2 separate regions of the Homo sapiens genome follow, and region 1 is linked to region 2. Evidence: promoter capture Hi-C in human tissues and cell types (Jung and others, 2019). All regions are on one chromosome and are shown on one strand. Each heading gives the region's core, a stretch centred on a gene start or on the middle of the fragment in contact. The rest is flanking DNA. Distances are from core to core; before and after follow the strand shown.

Evidence for each region. The method cuts DNA at HindIII sites, captures the fragments that hold promoters and counts their contacts. A contact is called where the count stands out against the background at its distance.
Region 1: a fragment that was not itself captured here is called in contact with the fragment with the promoter of ZBTB44 in region 2 in 1 of the 25 tissues and cell types used here (spleen).

The regions. Positions count from the first base shown.
Region 1 is chr11:130,898,357-130,901,679 of GRCh38, forward strand. The region is part of intron 8 of SNX19 (sorting nexin 19); the gene reads right to left. Among named protein-coding and RNA genes, the nearest start is that of SNX19, 16 kb to the right of the region's middle. The HindIII fragment of the contact is 3,464 bases long and covers 1-3,165 here.
Region 2 is chr11:130,313,542-130,316,985 of GRCh38, forward strand. ZBTB44 (zinc finger and BTB domain containing 44) reads right to left here and starts at 1,376. Exons shown (of 8, transcript NM_001301098.2): 1 at 834-1,376. ZBTB44-DT (ZBTB44 divergent transcript) reads left to right here and starts at 1,452. Exons shown (of 7, transcript NR_148980.1): 1 at 1,452-1,574. RefSeq lists enhancers at 530-579, 1,740-1,839, 2,010-2,109 and silencers at 670-1,499, 2,410-2,469. The HindIII fragment of the contact is 15,077 bases long and covers 1-3,444 here.

The DNA of each region.
Region 1 (3,323 bases), core at 184-2,683, 580 kb after region 2:
ATCTGGTGACTACAGCATCCCTGATGGTCAAACTGCAGTGAGTTCTAAATAACTAGAGAAGTGGCAGTACCACGTGTGGCACCAACACCAACTATCCTGCTCTTTTAAGCACGGAACTTAAAGGAAGAGAACCCAAGTACCCTGCAAAAGCATATGGCTCAGCTACCCGTGGTTTCAGGGAGGACAAACATGTAGCCTCCTAGGCAGCAGTCATGGGGATGGGAGGCAACGGGACCTCATATCATGCCTCTTGTGGGAGATGCAGGGGGTACAGTGGAGAGGTGCTGCAGCTCTGGAGATGTCAAGTTTCCAGCATATTGGCTTACCAAAGCAAATAAAGCTGAAGCATGCAGCAATGCATACACCACTTTTTAAAATTAAAACCTGCAACTGTCCCAGGGATAGTAACATGGGCTGTCTTTAGACTGCAGCACTGCCCTTAGGTTAGCTGCAAGTGTGTAGATACGGAGATGCAGTTTGGATTCTACAAACTGCCTGATAATCTCCAGTACTTGGAGACAGAGATTTTTGGGTTGGCTTTTATCCTGCTGAATTGCAGGGCAAAGATCTGATCCTGAAATTTAGACAATCATCACAGCTATAAATCAGAAAAACCTGGGTTCAAATTCTGCTTGTGATATTTATTAACCCTGTGATTTTGACTAGATAACCCACATTCTTTGTAAACCTTAGTTTCCTTGTCTTTAAAATGAGGGTCATAGTACCGCTTTCGCAGGACTTGGAGGAATTAAATGGTATTAAGTTGGTGCAAAAGTAACTGTGGCTTTTGAACAGCATGTGCATACAGTGTTCAGTACAGTATTTGCACTAAGTCAACTCTCGATAAACATTTGCTGGACAGCAAATGTGCTGATGCTGACGAGATTATCAACGTTTACACTCTGAATGCTAAAATGTGTTAGCTCCATGTCTATAATGCACAGGGTGCTTCCAGGTATGAGACCATGGGCCACCAGTGCCAGATCTTTGGAAGCTCTAGTGGAAGAACCGGTTCTTTCTTTAGATATCATGACTTCTAGCTTCCTATCTTAAGGAGGCTTCAGGAAAACTGTGAAACCAGCTATAAGGTACTTCAGAAGAGGGCCAAAAATGTCATTAAAAAGATGGGAAAAATGATTTGTAGGGATACATGAATGGCCTCAAACAGAGAAGTATGAGATTCTTCATTTAATTCTAGTCTGTGGAAGCTTGGGTGAGGAGACTGCTAACCAGATGTGGTCCTATTTTCATTGCAGCTAATACAAAACCAAATGGGCTAAGGATAAAGTTGTATTCTTAGATATAAGAACTTGTTGACAGGAAGGGATATGAGGTAACTGAACATGTATAAAACATCTTCACCTGGAAATATGTACAATGAACCAAAGATAACAGGCCATAGTTACAACAAGTTTTTCAAAAGTAACTAGCCGCAAAATGCTGTTCTTGCCCAATATTCACAGTGGCTTCATTCAAATTCACCAAATATATTCAGAGTTTTCCCACTTTTCCCATCACAATAGTGATGCTTTTCCATAAAACAGAATAAGACAAAACCAAAAAACAAAAAGTCAGAATGTGAAAAGAGGAGAAAGTCTAGGGAAATTCAGCTGTAAGCCCTCTCCCTCATTTCCTTTATGGCATGAGCTACATTTGGGTTTTGCTAGTCTGCATTCACCAGACTTTACCCAGCTCACTGGAGTTGTGGTTGTAGTTGGGGAGTGTCAGGGACAGGAATGGAAAGGTGAGGAACTTGCCTGGGCAACATAGTGAGACCCCATCTCAACCAAAAAATTTAAAAAATTAGCCAAGCACGGTGGTGTGTGCCTGTAGTCCTAGCTACCTGGGAGGCTGAGGTGGGAGGATGGCTTGAGCCCAGGAGGTTACAGTGAGCTATGATTGCAGTGCCACTGCACTCCAGCCTGGGCGACAGAATGAAATCCCATCTCACTGATATTTCATATATTGACATTTTATCCTCAATATATGAAAAATGAAAAAGAAAGAAGTCTCACAGCCTCTGCTCTGAACTCTAAAATGAGCCCTGTCTTTTCCATGTCTGCCACGCAGCTGGAGCTTGCTTCGCTCGTATTTAACTTTTCTGCCTTAGATCTCCCAGGGCCCCGGCCACATGAAAAAGTACTTCTGTGATCATTCTCTAACTCCCAGAATATAGGTATTTCTCCTTTATCTGGACTAGCCCAAACCCTTGAGCACTCTGAGTTATTCAAACTTCAGGTCAACTTTTTCCTACCCCTTTTATATAAGGATCTCAATCTTTTTTGAATTTCTCCTAACTCATCTATACTTTTATCCTCATACTGAATAATTTCTCGTGTTCTGAAACCAATCTGTCATGTAAATGACCTCAAGGAGAAGGGGTCATATTAGATCACACACTAGCTAGTTTTGGGATCTTCTCATTTTGTTTTTTTAAACCACTTAGAAGATTAGCAAAGGGAAGTCCAAAAAAAGAAGAAGAGAAATGAAGGCCTAATTAGTGACATCCAGAGGTGACAGAATAAAACTAAAGAGACTATACTTTCAAGTGTAAAGGTACTGGGAAGGGAAATGTTTATTTCTTTATTCAATATTTAATGAGTACCTACTATGTCCAGGCCCTGTATAAGCTGCTGGGGAGACAAAGCTAGTTCCGGTCCTTAAAGAACTAATAGTCTACACAGCATTTCTCAAGCTTGGTAACACTGATATTTTGGGCAGGATAATTCACGTTGTTTGGCATGGTGGACTGTCCTGTGTAGCTGCAGGATGTTTAGCAGCATCCTTGGCCTACATCCACTAGATGCCAGTAGGCATCCCACATCTCCTTCCCAGTTGTGACAACAAAAAATATCTCCAGATAATGGCAAGTGTCCCCTGGGGGACAAAAGTGTACCCCAGTTGACAACCACTAGTGTAGGAAAAGCAGATCATTTATATAAACACACTGTGACAAGTATTATTATCAAAACTTTGCAAGTTAGAGAAGAGGACTCCTTAATTCTCGGGGAAAGAGAGCAGATGCTACAGAAGGTTTCACAGAATAAATGACATTTTATGCTTAATATATGAAAAATGTTTTGCAGTAGGCCAAGCAGACAAGAAGAGGAAAAGTTAGGAACACATGGAAGGAACAGGGAAATAACAGGTAGAGAAAGACCATTCGAAGGCAGATACAGGAAGATGAGCAAAGGCCTGGGGGTAAAAGACCACAGAATATTCAGGCAATGATGGACGTTTACACGGTGGAAAATGAAAAATAAGACTGAAACCAGATCATGCCAAGTAAGAAAGGAGGTGGAATTTTAATATAAAGAAATAAA
Region 2 (3,444 bases), core at 126-2,625:
AACACCTAGAGAAAAGGAAATCAAAATCGTGCAGCTTGCTTCCGGTATCAGCCGATCTCCAAATAAAGCATTAAGAAAATAAGTGGAAGTTATGGAGAATTTCTTCCTGACTTCAAGAGATTATCTACTTACACGCTGAAAAAGAAATTAAGTTTTTGTCTTCATTTTTGTAAGTTCCAAAAAAAAGCACACAATTACGGGGTTTTATTGTAAATTCTGCTTGGATTCATAGAACTCACATGGACGCAATTTCCTTTTAATCAGTTCTAACGTACCTGTCATTTCTCGAGGTAACCCCTTTTTCTGATTAGGCCAGCAATAAAACGACTAGATGCAGAGTGATCCTCAGGAAGGAAAGGAAAAGAGGTGTGTGTGTGTGTGTATGTGTGTGTGTGTTTGTGTGTGTGTATATATATATATATATATTTTTTTAAAGAAGTGCCATCTTTTTCTTTCTGTACCAGAGAAAAAGCAGAAGGGGAAAGGAGGAAAAAAAACAGGTCTGAGCCTCCCGGGTTCGACCAGGTGAGAGGTGGCAACACTCCGGCCGCTCCGGGTTAGGGTGTTGGGCAAATGGGCGTGCAAAGGACGGGCAGCTCCCTGGAAGGTCGGGGTAACTGCTCCGGGACCGCGGGGCCCAAGGCCGGTCTCCTCCCAGAAGGATTAAATGCCACCGAGGGGATCCCGTGGGGTGTCTCCCGGCGCGGACTAGGCTGACAGACCCGGCTCTCCGCTCCCTTCGGCGCCAGGTGGGGGCCACGCGGTGTCAGCCACGGGCAGCGTGCAGGGGCCGTCCCCCGCGCGACCGGAGCCCGCCCTCCCCTCCCCGTTACCTGCGGGCGGCGGCGCCGGGCCCGGAGGCCTGCTGCTCCTCCTCCTTCTCCCGCCAGGCTGGGGCGGCGAGGCGGCGGCGGCGGCGGCCCGGGGGGAGGGGGCGGAGCGCGGCTCGCTGCCTCTCTCCTCCCCCGGGAGGCTCAGGGGCCCCTATCTCGGGCCGCCGCGCCTAGGCCCGTGAGCAGCCTGTGGTGGGGCATGGCGGCACAGCCACCGGCGTGCCCGCGAGTGGGAGTGCGAGGAGGCGGGGAGGGAAGCACCCCCAGCGCTCGGAGGGGCCAGAGGGGAGGAGCGAGGGGGCCCGGGAGCCGCGCGCTGGCGACCGTTGGGGACGGTTGGCCGAGGGCAGGCGGTTGTTTGGGGAGCGCGGCGACGGCTCGCGTGTTCCCAGCGGGGCGGGGTGGGGAAGGGGAAGGGGACTGAGGGGAGGGGAGGGGGAGGTTGGGAGGGAGCCGCCGCCGCGCGCGTGCGGCCGGCGCCGCCGCCGTTGCCGCTCCGCTCACTCCAGCCTGTTTGGGGGCACTTTGTTTGTGTCCCACAATGCTCTGCGCCGGCGGCCTGGCTGGGGAAGGGGAGGAGAAGGGGGCGGGGCGGAGCGCGCTCGGGGGCGGGGCTCGGGGCGGGGAAGGAAACGTGATGATTGCGCAAGCGCAGAAAATGGGCCCTCTTGGCCGTCGGGACTTGTACTGTTGGTGACTCCGTCTCCTTAGACGGTGGAGCCTGCGTGACCCAGAAAGGCCGTGAGTCTTGACACTGTATTTTTGCATATGTGCGCACATGTGCCGATTTACATTCACATGCCCCATAAGCCCTGTCCCATTTGTCCTTCCTCTAAGCCGTCCTCTTACCCAGTTCCCCTCTCACACCTGAGAAGCATTTCTCCGCAGGAGTCACATTTATAGCATTATTTTTTTCTTCGAACTAAAAACATAACTCCTATTTTCTCGGGTAGTTTTTGTAGGGAGGTCGAAATAGAAACACTTCAGCCCCTCTTCGGCGAGGGAGGTTAGTTGGTAAGGTGCCCATTGTTCACCCATGGAAACAGGCCTGCCAAGGGCCGCCCCGCAGACAGGTGAGCCCGCGCCCCCGTCCTGGGCGGACTGCGACATGCGGCGGGTGTCTGGATTGCGTGGCTCCTCGGGCCTCCTCGCAGTGCTTGCTCTCTTCCGTTCTAGCACTTGCCTCGGTGACCTGGCAGGACGTGCGGTTCTTGAGATGAGTGGAGAAACGGACTCCCAGGTCCCTCTCGTTCTTCCAACACAGGGACAGCTAGAGCTGCTCCAAAAATATACCCTACTTCTTCCACAACCGTGAATCTGTCATTTTTACTGCACCATCACTTACTTCCTGGCCTTCCCGGAGGAAGTGTGCGGGCCTCCCCGAAGTAACCGGTACCGCCCGGGGGGTTTTGAAGTTCTTGGTCAACTGCAAAATCAATCAACCTAGTTAACTCCTAGGGCCCTAAGTCTTGGCTTCCCCTGGCCAGGCGGGCGAGCGCTCTCCACACCGCCCCCGGAGGTCATAGGGGTTCCCGGGACTGCAGGCGGCAGCGCCCCAGGTGCCTGGGGGCGGGCGGGGTGCGGGCAGGTGCTCCTTGGGCGCTTTCTGTTTTCCCACGCCTCCAGTTTGCAAACCGAAAGACTTCTTTCCAGAGGGTTTTGTGCAAGGTGGGTGGACGTCCCGCTGAAGTAGAGTGGATTTTCCTTTTGAAACACTTGGCAACATCTCACATTAATTCACTCTGAGAGACAAGCAGCCAAGCACCTGAACACCCTGACACTTGCAATCTTCTTTAGGAATAAAGGCAATAAAAACAACTTCTGTTTTTATAGTCCTTCGCAGTTTCCAACAAGTTTTCAAGCATGTATAATGTTATCTAATCCTTACGGCAACTGTAATTCACAGGTTTTATCACAGGTTTCTATTATTATTCCCACTATCATTCTTATTATTCCCATTTCAGAGATGAGAAAAATCAGAAAGATGCGAACTAGGCCCAGAAACTTTTGCACTAAGTTTTGAAGAGGGGAAGGGAAAGAAGGCGGAATGCTTACCTGGGAGAGGACTGGCGGCCACAGAGCAGGGCTCAGGAAAGGGCATGAGCTGGGGCCCTGGTGAGGAATGTGTGAGAATGTATGTAGGTGGTAAGCAACTGGACAAGAATCAGGGTGGAAATGAAGTAGTCAAATCCTATCTACCTCTCCTAGTGCCTTTAACAGGATAGTCAATAAAAGACCATGAGGCAAGTCTTTTCTAAGTGCTTCTCCAGGGGCTGTGGTGGCAGCTCCTCAACTACTACACTGACACAAAAATTTGCTTTCCTTTGTAGTACAACTTGAAGTCAGGTAGAGGAATGCCTCTAGCTTTGTTATTTTTGCTCAGAATTGCCCTAGCTTTTCAGGGTCTTTTGTGGTTCCATACAAATTTTAGGATTTTTTTTTCTAGTTCTGTGATGAGTGTCATTGATATTTTGGTAGGGATTGTACTGTACCTGTAGGTGGCTTTGGGTAGTGTGGATATTTTAACAATATTAATTCTTTCAATTCATGAGCGTGAGATATCTTTCCTTTTTTTTTTTTTTTTTTTTTTGTTCTCTTCATTTTCTTTCAT